Regions from separate parts of the Homo sapiens genome. Here regions 1, 2 and 3 are each linked to region 4. Evidence: promoter capture Hi-C in 16 types of primary human blood cells and fetal thymus (Javierre and others, 2016). All regions are on one chromosome and are shown on one strand. The core of a region is centred on a gene start or on the middle of the fragment in contact, and the rest is flanking DNA. Distances in the headings are between cores, read along the strand shown.

Region 1 (2,736 bases), core at 163-2,662, 1.3 Mb before region 4:
TTATAATCCTCATAAATTATATAAACAACTGACGCCAAATCCTCCATTACAGATAACATGTATCACGTGCTTGATATATAGTCCAGGCATTGCTCTAAGTAGGCACTATCATGATCCCTATCTTGCATCTTAGGAAATTAAAGCTTAGAAAGCTTAAGTACTTACCTTAAGTTCATACAGCAAATGAGTGGCAGAAGTCAGGTGTGATTCCTGTACTCTTATTCACTATTCTATTCTCCCTCTCAGTACAGAATCTGTCAGGACAGGGCAGCAATAGGATAAACTAGACTAGGGCTACCTGGGACTTCCAATTGGATGTGAGAGGCCATGTGAGTTCACAGGTTCTCATGGTATTGAAAAGAATGTCAGAAGCCAATGGATGAATCCAGCCCACAGTTGAGGCTGACAGAAAAACACTGGGCTGCTTCATGTGTATCTGAGACAGTTAGTAGCAACTTGATGTCTCCATTATGAAGATGGGGTTATCTAAGTTTCCAAAATTTCATGTTGTGTTTCAGTTCCCAAATGGTCCAAAGAACATTGATATGTGATTTTAAAGTGAAACCGAGCAGAAGAAAGTTGTTTCAAATACCAGAGCTAAACTAAGTACAGTGTTTGAAAGAATGGACTCCATAGCAGGGAAGAAAAAGACCCAACTGGAGTCCACTTTTTAAGAGATCAGCAAGGTACCTCTGATGAGGTTTTTTAAAATTTATTTCATGCAAGCACACCACAGTCTATGTGCCAAATTAGCACCCCCAACCTTTGTTGTAAAGAGTGTTTTGGGGATGTAAGTACACTTATCCACACACGCACTCTCTATGACAGCTTTTATGCTACAATGTCATGGCTGAGAAACTGCAACAGACACTGTATGACCTGCAAAGCTGAAAATACTGCTACCTGACCCTTTCTAGAAAAACGTTGCTTACCTCTGCTCTAAAATATATTTTACAAATCTAGATTTAGGATTTAAATTTAAACAGATAAAACCAGGCTTGGTATACATCTGAGAGCTCTTATCTGTTTGGATCAAGGGTATTAGAAAGCATGGGATGGTGAAACCACTTGAGAAAGAACAAGGTATAAGAGAATTCAATTGGGCCAGCATTTTTATTTTATAAAGTCAGTTGCTCCAGAGAATGAACTTTGTTAAACATAAGGTTACATTTGCAAATATTCTAGCTCAGAGGACGTTGTGTTCCACCAAAATGAGCAAAAGGTCAAAGTGATTGAGTTCTTTGTATCTGATCTTGTATTTCCGATTGTGACATAGATTTCTTTTACATACCTGATCTTATATTTCTGATTTTTTTCTCCTAAGGAGGACACGTGTCTTATACTTCCATAAGTCTGTCAATTGTTAAGGGCCCACTCTGTGCCAAAACAAACTTCAAATATTTACATTCACAATCTGACCACTTGTTCTTCAATATCTCCTTTCCCCTTTGTCTCATGGAAATAGAACCCTTGATTCTGGACATTACTGTCCAGAATGACAGACATTGTCCAGATACTCTTACAGATACAGCTCTGGATTGACTTAGATTCTGCTCATCAGATGCGCACATGAGGGATGTGCAAGGTAGAAGTCATGCTTCTATTTCTTCCGCAGTTCCACTCTGGGTCTCTCTGTCCCCATCCCCTGTCCTGACTCAAAATTGAGTTGTGATCATGGCAGTTTTCCAGTATCTATAAGAACACCTGCATTGGTGGCCCAACTCTGTTGTATTGTTCTCAAAGCATTCTTGGAGTGTTTCTTTAGCCCTCCAGCCAACTCTCTAAGCCATAACAAAACCTGTACTAAATCCTTTTCTGATTAAACTAGCTAGACTGGATTCTGTTCTCTACAAATGAACACTGAACAACACAAAACTGAGAATTTAGAAGTAGGGTGCTGCCCTAAAATATATTAATGCACATTTCATTGTCTTAGCAGTCCAGGCAGTAGATGGTAAGAACAAGCATAGCAGTCTGGAAAACTAGAGACCATAGTTATTCAGTGGCAGGGTATTGAACAAATTCCTGCCTAAGCTAACTTGGAAAGGCGATTACATGCTTATCAAGTCTGTAGCTATAGGCTAGATCACTGGAAAAATTCAATTGATGTCAATTGGTTGCTTCTGCTACTTTCAGCAACGTTTTGCAAGAGAGAGTTGAACTATATCTAGATCTAGCCAGGCTTCAAGGACAATAAAGGGAATATAGATCTCTGCTAAGGAAAGGACAGAGAATTTAAACCTGAGGCAGGGAATTTCAACCTGTGGTCAAGAATCTAAAAGATTTATGAGTCTGATAATTTGGTGCCTCTACACAGTGTTGAAAAAGTCAATTGTCTGCACTTCCACACTGAAGCAATAATGAGGGTGCTCTGAAGGAGCACTGTGACTCCAACAATTTACAAGCATATCTCCAAAGCATTTTGGGTACACAATGAATATAGGTCAAATAAAGCATGTTGCCCTACCATTGAAGTTCCTGATTTTAGGGCATTATGAATACAAGCCTATATTAGCTTGCTAGGGTTGCCATAGCAAAATACGAAAAACTGGGTGCTTTAAACAGGAGAAATTTATTATCTCAAAGTTATAGAGGTTAGAAGTCTAAGATCAAGGTGTCTGCAAGGCTAGCTCCTTCTGATGGCTATAAGAGAGTCTGTTTCATGCCTCCCCCAAGCTTCTGGTGGTTTGCTGGCAACCTTTGGCATTCCTTAACTTGTCGGTCACATTACCCCGA
Region 2 (2,934 bases), core at 204-2,703, 1.1 Mb before region 4:
AGGAAAATTTTGTTACTTTAATTTGGAGAATATGCAACAGTTTTGTTTGAATTCTGGGGAAGTTTGAGTGTTTATACTTGTCACTGAATATATTGGTTAATGCATCTTTTTCTATGATGCTATATTTATCTCACTGACAATTAGGTTGAAAAACAACAGAACGTCATAAAGAACCACACTGGTTTAAAATATACTAATCATGACTTGTATTTAGATATCCTTGATCAATTCTTAGGAAATACCAATTTTATGCTTTTGGGTATAATTAATATACTTAAACCCACTATATATTTAAATATTACTTATAGTGAAAATGTGCTATTTCGTACTGATTCTCTTGAATGTATTGATAGTTGGGTAAGTTTCAATATTCTATCACAGCATACAAATTGGAAATAAAATACTCAGGGTTTTGTCCCTCCCTTCCTTCTTTCCTTTCTTTTGAGGCTTGTTTTACTCTTTGGACAGTGCATCATGAAAAATAACTGCATTTTTAAAGTCTATAAAGTAATTAGCTCACCGGTAATTATTGCTTAGTATAAACTATTATTAATAGCTGACAACTAGTGCTCCAAATGAGAAAAATGAAATGTGGGAAAATTCAGAGACCAGTCCCCCAAGGTCCTAAAAAATATGCAAACTAGATTATTGCTTAAATTATTTTTCAAACACTTTTTAAGCTTTTCATTTCAAAATTTGCTATTTATTTTTCAATGGCATGGTCCAAATACAGAATCAATCTAAAAGTTCTCGGACATGTTTCCTATCACTTCTACTACATTGCAGGTAAAATTTGAATCATATCTACTTATTACCTGTTTCTAAATTTGTATTTTCCTCTGTTCATTTACTGTCTTTATCAATATTTCTTTGGGGAGACTGTTCTATGAGAATGATACTTAAAGGCAGGATTATATCTTTTTGCAGAGGCTAAATACACCACACACATAAATACTGCTTACTTCATTAGTTAACATACATTTTCAGAAATCTGCCATGAAGATATGTTGCATGGTTTGGTTGTTAACGACCATAACTGTAATGTTATTCTTTATCCCTGATGGGGTCCTATAGGGTTAAAGAATGCACACACGGGTCCTTTATAACTTAACAGGATGGGTATGCGTATCTGTCTCCTGCAATTAGGAAAGCCGACTAGGGCAGCACGGGTCCAACCTGTATAATCAATTCTTTCTGCAGCAAAGGGGTATATTTCATAATCTTTCTGCCAATTAAATAGTATGTGTCTGCATGTGTACATGTTTTATTCTGCCTAACTAGCCAGGAGGTTGTGAAACCTAGTACTGTAATTCAAGGAGAATTCATGCGCATATACATACACTTCCTTTCTGCAAAAACCCTTTGAGGTGGTGCTATAAAGAATCTCCCTCAAAAGCCACTCTGTTCCCAGGTGTTACTGGTCATATGAGAGGGCCAAATGTAAACTGAAACCATAAATGAGCTACAAGGATCATTTTCTCTGAACAACATTACATCAAAGATTAGATGGTGCCAAAAGATGATGCACTGTGCTGTCTCTCTAGAGACGTAGTCTTAGAGATCTGCCTAACCTTGTGAATGCTGCTTGGAGAAGAAGCACACAGTGGGGAAAACACGTTGCCACTGGAAGACAAAAAGGTAAGCCTGCAGAACACTGGGCCATTCAGATGATGTACGTAACCTCTGCACATTCTGGAAAGCAGAATAAAAGTGCTGGGGCTTAGGTTGGCAAGCATTCTGGCTTGGGGGCTAAACGAAACATGCACTGACCTAATTTAAACACACACATACACACACACACACACACACACACACACACACACACACTGGAGCTGGCTGTGGTAACAATGGGTAATTACAGAGTATGCATTATGAACACCCAACTACTGCACTCTAGACTCATAAATGCCCTCCTGCTAGAAAGGAAAGGAAGGCCTTTGTGGCACCTGCTGACACTCCTTGAGTTTCATTGCCTGGTAAGTCCTTAACATGTACAAATAGAGGTTGGGGGAGACAACTGTGTTTCAATAAGGAAGACAATGATGGCTCACTAATTGGTTAAACCCATTGGCATTAGCTTCGCTTCGGGTGTGTATTCCCACTACGGGCACAGAAAGCGTTCATATTTTATTAATATTATGCCACAGATGATGTTACTGTCCAACATTACATGTCAGGAAGGCAAAAGATTTACAATTCTTGATCTTATGAGTTGGGGTGTCTGAAACAAGCTTTGCAGACTTTAATAGTGGAATCCTCTAAATTCACTCTGCTCATCGTGAAGCCATCTTGAGAGGCCACTGATGAATATGTGGGAACCTGACAGCTGTGGAATTTTATTTCTAGACTTTAACTAGGCACAGAAAGGAAAAGGAAATCTCCTTGCTGGCAACAAAATGAAAGTGTTTACATGTGAAATTAATCGTCAGCACAAAGAGCTTTCACAGTCACTCTGTTCCACAATGTAATATTCTGCTTGTTTGGCTGCTGAGTGTTTTAAAATTTCATTTCTAAGAATAATAGCAAAGACTTTCAAGGGGGGCAAGAAATCAGGTCAGGAGCCAGCCACAAAAGGTTAACAGAATTACCCGACTTTTCTTTTTCACCACGACTTAAAACCATTCATTACGTGAGTTTTCTGGGCTTTGATGGTACATGGTTCAAGGCCAGGTGCAGCAACAGCCAGCTAATTCAAGCATAGTGAACACGGAGGTCAGCTGCAAACATTTACGTTGTGCAACATCGTGTTCCTCTCATTCCAGCCCCATTCCTTTCCAATAAGAGCACATTTAGCACAAAGCAATCCACCTAAAGACTCCATAAATCCAAAAAAGGGAGTCACTGATCGAGGAATTCTCAGATTTCTGCCAAGGCACCCTCCCTTGGACTGGAGGTCAGCCTGGTACAGTAATCGGAGCCAAACTGTGGACTGGA
Region 3 (2,700 bases), core at 82-2,581, 1.1 Mb before region 4:
TAGAGTTTTCCTATAATGTTATTATAGATACACATAAATGCACATCAGATTATTATAATCACCAAGAAAAAAACAGTCATTTATTTTTAAGGCCCTCCCCGCCAAAGTTCAACTGCTTTATAAGAAAATGCAGAAAAAAGTGCTGCAAGATCGAATGCCTAAGAAGACCCTCGGAAGCAGCAGCATTGAAAGAGTAATCAAGTGTAAGGGCGGAGGGACACAAATTCATTTTATAAAAAGGGAGGAAAAGCTTGCATGCACCAAAGTGCATTTAATGCAAAGAAACACAACAGTTTCTAACAAGGCTTTAGGAGCAAGAAGAACAAAATTAACCACACCAACAAGCACAAAACCCCACCCCTTCCCAAAAGAATTCATTTCTCCCTCCGAACTTGTGCATTTTAGAAAAAACCCAAGTTAAATTCCAGCCTGAATGCAGCACAACCAAAATGCCAGAATTTCTCCAAGGTACACGCTTCAGCTCTTTAAAATTTAGAGGGAAGAAGCATGAACTCTGCAGGGTTGAAGGGTCCAGCTAAGAGCAACGGCAAGGAATCGACACAAAAGAGAAACCAGCGCTCCCAGCCGGGGATAGGAATGGCATATACTTACAGACAAAAGCCCCGCTCCCTGTTCACTCTCTCTCCTCTCTACACCTGAAACACAAATGTGGTTGAAAAAGGGCAACATGCTAGAAAGACAGATTGGGGGGGGAGGGGGGATTGGGGGAGGGAGGGGGAGGGGAAAGGGGTGGAGGAAGAGGAGGGAGGAGGGGGAAGGGAAACAAAACCCAAACCGGCTTCACTTCCAAGAAGTGCAGCCTTGGAAAAAGGAGGAGGAGATCATCTCCCTGCCTCGCGCTCTCTCTCCAAGAGTGTGTGTGTCTCTCTCTTTCTCTAAGAGTCTCTCTCTCTCCCTTTCCCTCTCTCTCCCGCTAGGGTGCTAGTGAACAATGAGCTAATTCTGATGGAGCTGGCGCGGAGCCAGCGCCCCAGCCTTGCTGCCACTGTGCAGCCGCCTAGGAGCCAGACTGCTTACTCGGCAGGAATCGGCGGCTCTGGGCCCCGTCGGCGAGCGGCCAACAGGCGCGCGCGCCCCGACACCCCGCACCCGCGCCCCGGGCGCCCCGCTCGCCGCGCCGTCCCCACTGCACCGCGCGGCGCCCCGGGGAGACAAAGCGGACCCGCAGCTCTGCGCCCCGGCCCCGCCCCGGGAGCACGGCGCGCGCAAATCCCCGGCCTTCCTCCCCGCCCCCGGCCAGCCTCTCCGCCTCGACGTGCGGTTGCTTTTCAGACAAATAAGGAGGTGGAGGAGGCGGTTTGGGGGCGCGCCAAGCGTGAAGGCGGCCAGGGTGCTGCACAGCCCGGCGGCCCGCCAGGGCCGTGGGGAGAGGCGGCGCGGCCCGTACTGTAATAATAAACCTGCAGCAGAGGGCATCTGAGGAAAAGAGGACGGCGACGGGCGGCAGCCGCCTTCCTTTTATGTGCCTGTCCTGAGCGAAGCAGAAAATGGTGCCTGCGGCGGCGCGGAGCCGCGCTCAGACACACAAAGAGTCCGCGAAGGATGCATTTGCACACGGCCTCGGGTCGGACCCTGCCCCTCAGCTGGGTACGCGCGCCCCACTCCCTTCCGCGGGGAAGCCCGGGGCGGGGAGCGCCCCTGAAGGCCGGGCCCAGAGGTCCTGTGGCTGCGCGTGCACACACACACGTGCACACAGTCACACGCGCACAACCAGCCAGAGCTGCGGCCTGGCGTGATCGGCCCAAGACATACTCCCCTGGTGCTTCCTTCTCCTTCCCTATACGCTCCCCCACTGCCTGCCCGTCTGAAATTGTACTTTTTAAAATCGAGGATTGCTTTAAAAAATAAAGTGCTTTGCCATTTCTGATTTTTGTAAACTCGTCGTTCTTATTTAAAATCTATCTTTTCATAGTAATGTAATAGCTCAAAATTTTGCAACAAACTCAAATAAACTGGTTCTGTTGCCAATAAAGCAGGATATCATTTTATGGTAACTCTCAGATGTCACAGGAGAAGATTATTTCCTAATTAAATTGCCTTTCCAAGAAAAAAAGATATAAAGGATCATAGTGTCTTCTAAATTTGCCATCCACTTTTTCCCCTAATCACTGAAAGCAATGTTTTCCATTGTAACAAAGAAAATAAGGCAAATTTACAAAACTCAATTTTTAAACGTGTTTACAGAATGTCTGATGTTTTAGATTTAACATACTGGGTACAGCAATAGCAAACCTTAAAAAGCAATACTTTACACTCACAATTCTAAAAGAATGCACTGAGTTCTCTGTATGCTTGTTGCTGGGACTATAGGTCACCTTTAAAACTACAAAGCCATTGCCACAACAAATGCCTGTTAGACTGCACTGGGTATGATGTTTAAGGAGCCCACTGAAAGCTTCTCTGAATTAATCTAAAACATCACAGTAATTTTCCTGCAAAAATAAGATGATTTGGCAGCCATAGCTAGGAACAAAGGGAAGAAATATAAAACTCAACAAATTCCCTTGACCCTTTCAGGCCAGTTTACCAGCCAGGGAAGTACTGGAAGGAAGGTGTAAGGCATAGGCTGGGTGGTGGGAGAGGGGAGACGCCTGGGGGCTGATCTGCAAGTCTGGAACCCCAACACGCTGCTCAAGGGCACCTCAACATTGAGATCTTTGGCATTCACCTCAGGGTCAG
Region 4 (2,797 bases), core at 250-2,749:
GTGTTTCAGGGAATAGGGACTCCAGAAGAGGGAGAGAGATGGGAAATGGCCAGTTGGTCGAACAGTTAAAACATACACAACATTTATCCATTAAGTTCCCCATCTTATCTGGGCATGGTTCATGGTGCCCCAAAACATTATTATTATTTGAGACGGAGTCTTGCACTGTCGCCAGGCTGGAGTGCAGTGGTGTGATCTTGGCTCACTGCAACCTCCACCTCCTGGGTTCAAGAGATTCCCCTGCCTCCCGAGTAGCTGGGACTAAAGGCCTGTGCCACCATGCCTGGCTTATTTTTTATATTTTAGTAGAGATGGGGTTTCACCATGTTGGCCAAGATGGTGTCTATCTCCTGACCTCGTGATCCACCTGCCTCGGCCTCCCAAAGTGCTGGGATTACAGGCGTGAGCCACCGCACCCGGCCTTAAAACTATTACAATAGTAACAGCAAACATCACTGATCACCGATCACCATAACAGAAATAATGAAAAGGTTTGAAATATTGCAAAAATTACCAAATGTGACACAAAGTATACGCTGCTGGAAAAATGGCACCAAGCAACTTCTTTCAGGCGGATTTGCCAAAAACCTTCCATTTGTAAAAAGGCAGTATCTACTCGCAGCAGCAAGTGAAGTGCAATAATGAAGTATGCCTGTAGTGATGGCACATGGTATCCTTCAGAAGTTTTAAAAGGTGAATAGTTTTGTTTCGTTTTTCCTAGACGGAGTCTTGCTCTGTTACGCAGGCTGGAGTGCAGTGGTGTGATCTCAGCTCACTGCAACCTCCACCTCCTGGGTTCAAGTGATTCTCCTGTCTCAGCCTCCGAGTAGCTGGGATTACAGGCGTGTGCCACCACACTCGGCTAATTTTTGTATTTTTAGTACAGACGGGGTTTCAGCATGTTGGCCAGGCTGCTCTCCAACTCCTGACCTCATGATCCACCTGCCTCAGTCTCCCAAAGTGCTGGGATACAGGCGTGAGCCACCGCACCCGGCCTAAAAGGTGAATAGCTAAGTTTCTAACGCAGAGCACACTGAAACACAACGTCTATAACTTTGCTAGTTCTACCACTACAAAAATCCATTTTGCCAAACTGAAAGCAAGCTCTAGAGCCCAGGAACGGAGAAAAATTAAACGTAAGGAGTATTTCCTTCCCTGTCTAACATATATTTGCATCCTGAACCACACAGATTCCCCTCGTGGCACAGTCTTCGCCCCTTAACAGAGAGTAGCTAGTACCACCCATACTCGCTGAGAAACTGGAAACGAGGGAGGGTCGAAGTTAAACCCTTTTTAGTGGCGGTGCATGCGCCCCACATGGTCTTCCCGGCTTGGGAAAGGAATGAGAAGCTTTCATGATTCTCTCGCGAGAAGGGAAGTCTTCATGCCACGTCAGAGACTAGAGATCCTGGCGCCGAGCGACAGGTGCCGGAACAAACAGGCGATGAGAAATCGCGGACGCGGAACCATTTCTTGGGCAGGACTTCCGGCGGAAAAGCGGGCTGTCTCGGAAACTCAGAGCCGGGTTCCTCCCGGGTTTCTGCCGGGTTTCTCCCTGCGGCTCCTGGGTTGTTGAGACTCTTGTGAAGATGGCTTGCGCTGCCGCGCGGTCCCCGGCCGACCAGGACAGGTGGGTTCTGAGGCGGTGGGTCCTCCGAAAGGAAGGGGCTTGCTGTGGTGCTGCAGGTGCTACACCGCGCTTCTCCGCTCCGCGGCCTCCAGAATGGCCTAGCTGATCCAACTCGCTCTGTACGGGCCCCGCGCCTCTCCCTGGCAGCTCGTTTTTCTGAATCCTGCAGCAGCCACCAGGCTCTTCTCAGGGCTCCTGAAATTCCGACCATAGGTAGCCTAGTGTTTATCTGTACGCGAGACAAGGATTTTGGGTGCTACGTGGACATGATATCAAGTAATATAATCACAGTGTGAGAAATGTGTTCTTTTTAAGTATTGTTGCGTTCAGAAAGGCTCATTTGTGAAATTTTAAGGTTTTTAATACCTCGGACACTTTATATAAGAGGGCGGGCCCATTCTCAGGAACTTTTGACGGGCTGCTCTGTCTAATGTAACAGTTACCCAAGTCGTTTTGTTTCTATTCCTGTGGTTTTTTTCCATCCAAGGTAGTGGATAAAGTTTATTTTTAAATAAGTTAAAGTGAGGTAATTTAAAGAAATAACATTAAGCAAATAATAGCATAGGTGTACCAGCAATGATGACGACTACCACGGACCGAAAGAATGTATTTTTGAAAATACTTGTTATCTGTTGAGTGTAGTTGTCCAGGTTCTTGGCGTTTTGAATAAGGAATTGAACAAAACACACAAAGCAAGGCAGCGAAAGCAGATTTATTTTAAACAAAAGTACACTCCACAGGGTGGGAGCCGGCTCCAGCAAGCTACCCAAGAGCTGTTGGTTACAGAATTTTCTAGGGTTTAAATACCCTCTAGACGTTTCCCATTGACCTGTGCCAGTCTGATTGGTTGAGGGAGGGGGATCAATCAGAAAGAGGAGTAGGCCCGCGGCCAGTCTGATTAGTTGCTCGAGGGGACCACTCCGAGGTACTTTGATTTTTCAACTGCCACGCAGAAAAAGGAGGGGTTGAAAAGGGAGTACCCATCTGATATCTAGGCAGCATGAATTGGCCTTTGGTTCCCTGCCACCCGACCCTTTTCTCCTGCCTCTTACTGCTCTAGTGATACCACTTATGCTATTGTCTATGGCAGGTTTATTTGTATCTATCCTGCTTATTTAAATAATAAGAAGACCATCGCAGAGGGAAGGCGAATCCCCATAAGTAAGG

What was found. Contacts are between HindIII fragments. The CHiCAGO score rates a contact against its expected background, and 5 or more counts as called.
Region 1: a fragment that was not itself captured here is called in contact with the fragment with the promoter of SRP19 in region 4 in 1 of 17 cell types (naive B cells); the score reaches 6.0 in naive B cells.
Region 2: a contact is called between a fragment that was not itself captured here and the fragment with the promoter of SRP19 in region 4, in 1 of 17 cell types (fetal thymus). The highest score is 5.8, in fetal thymus.
Region 3: a contact is called between a fragment that was not itself captured here and the fragment with the promoter of SRP19 in region 4, in 3 of 17 cell types (fetal thymus, naive B cells and total B cells). The highest score is 11.2, in fetal thymus.

Annotation. Positions count from the first base shown.
Region 1 is chr5:111,519,918-111,522,653 of GRCh38, forward strand. All of the region lies in intron 1 of STARD4-AS1 (STARD4 antisense RNA 1), which reads left to right. All of the region lies in intron 2 of LOC105369177 (a long non-coding RNA gene), which reads left to right. Among named protein-coding and RNA genes, the nearest start is that of STARD4, 8.8 kb to the left of the region's middle. The HindIII fragment of the contact is 2,524 bases long and covers 151-2,674 here.
Region 2 is chr5:111,740,036-111,742,969 of GRCh38, forward strand. The region is part of intron 2 of NREP (neuronal regeneration related protein); the gene reads right to left. Among named protein-coding and RNA genes, the nearest start is that of NREP, 16 kb to the right of the region's middle. The HindIII fragment of the contact is 1,551 bases long and covers 679-2,229 here.
Region 3 is chr5:111,756,524-111,759,223 of GRCh38, forward strand. NREP (neuronal regeneration related protein) reads right to left here and starts at 671. Exons shown (of 4, transcript NM_004772.4): 1 at 613-671. RefSeq lists an enhancer at 1-428 and silencers at 1,022-1,421, 1,442-1,801. The HindIII fragment of the contact is 2,166 bases long and covers 249-2,414 here.
Region 4 is chr5:112,859,788-112,862,584 of GRCh38, forward strand. SRP19 (signal recognition particle 19) reads left to right here and starts at 1,500. Exons shown (of 5, transcript NM_003135.3): 1 at 1,500-1,630; 2 at 2,721-2,796. The coding sequence starts at 1,590. RefSeq lists enhancers at 1,265-1,559, 1,318-1,397, 1,498-1,797. The HindIII fragment of the contact is 2,166 bases long and covers 1,349-2,797 here.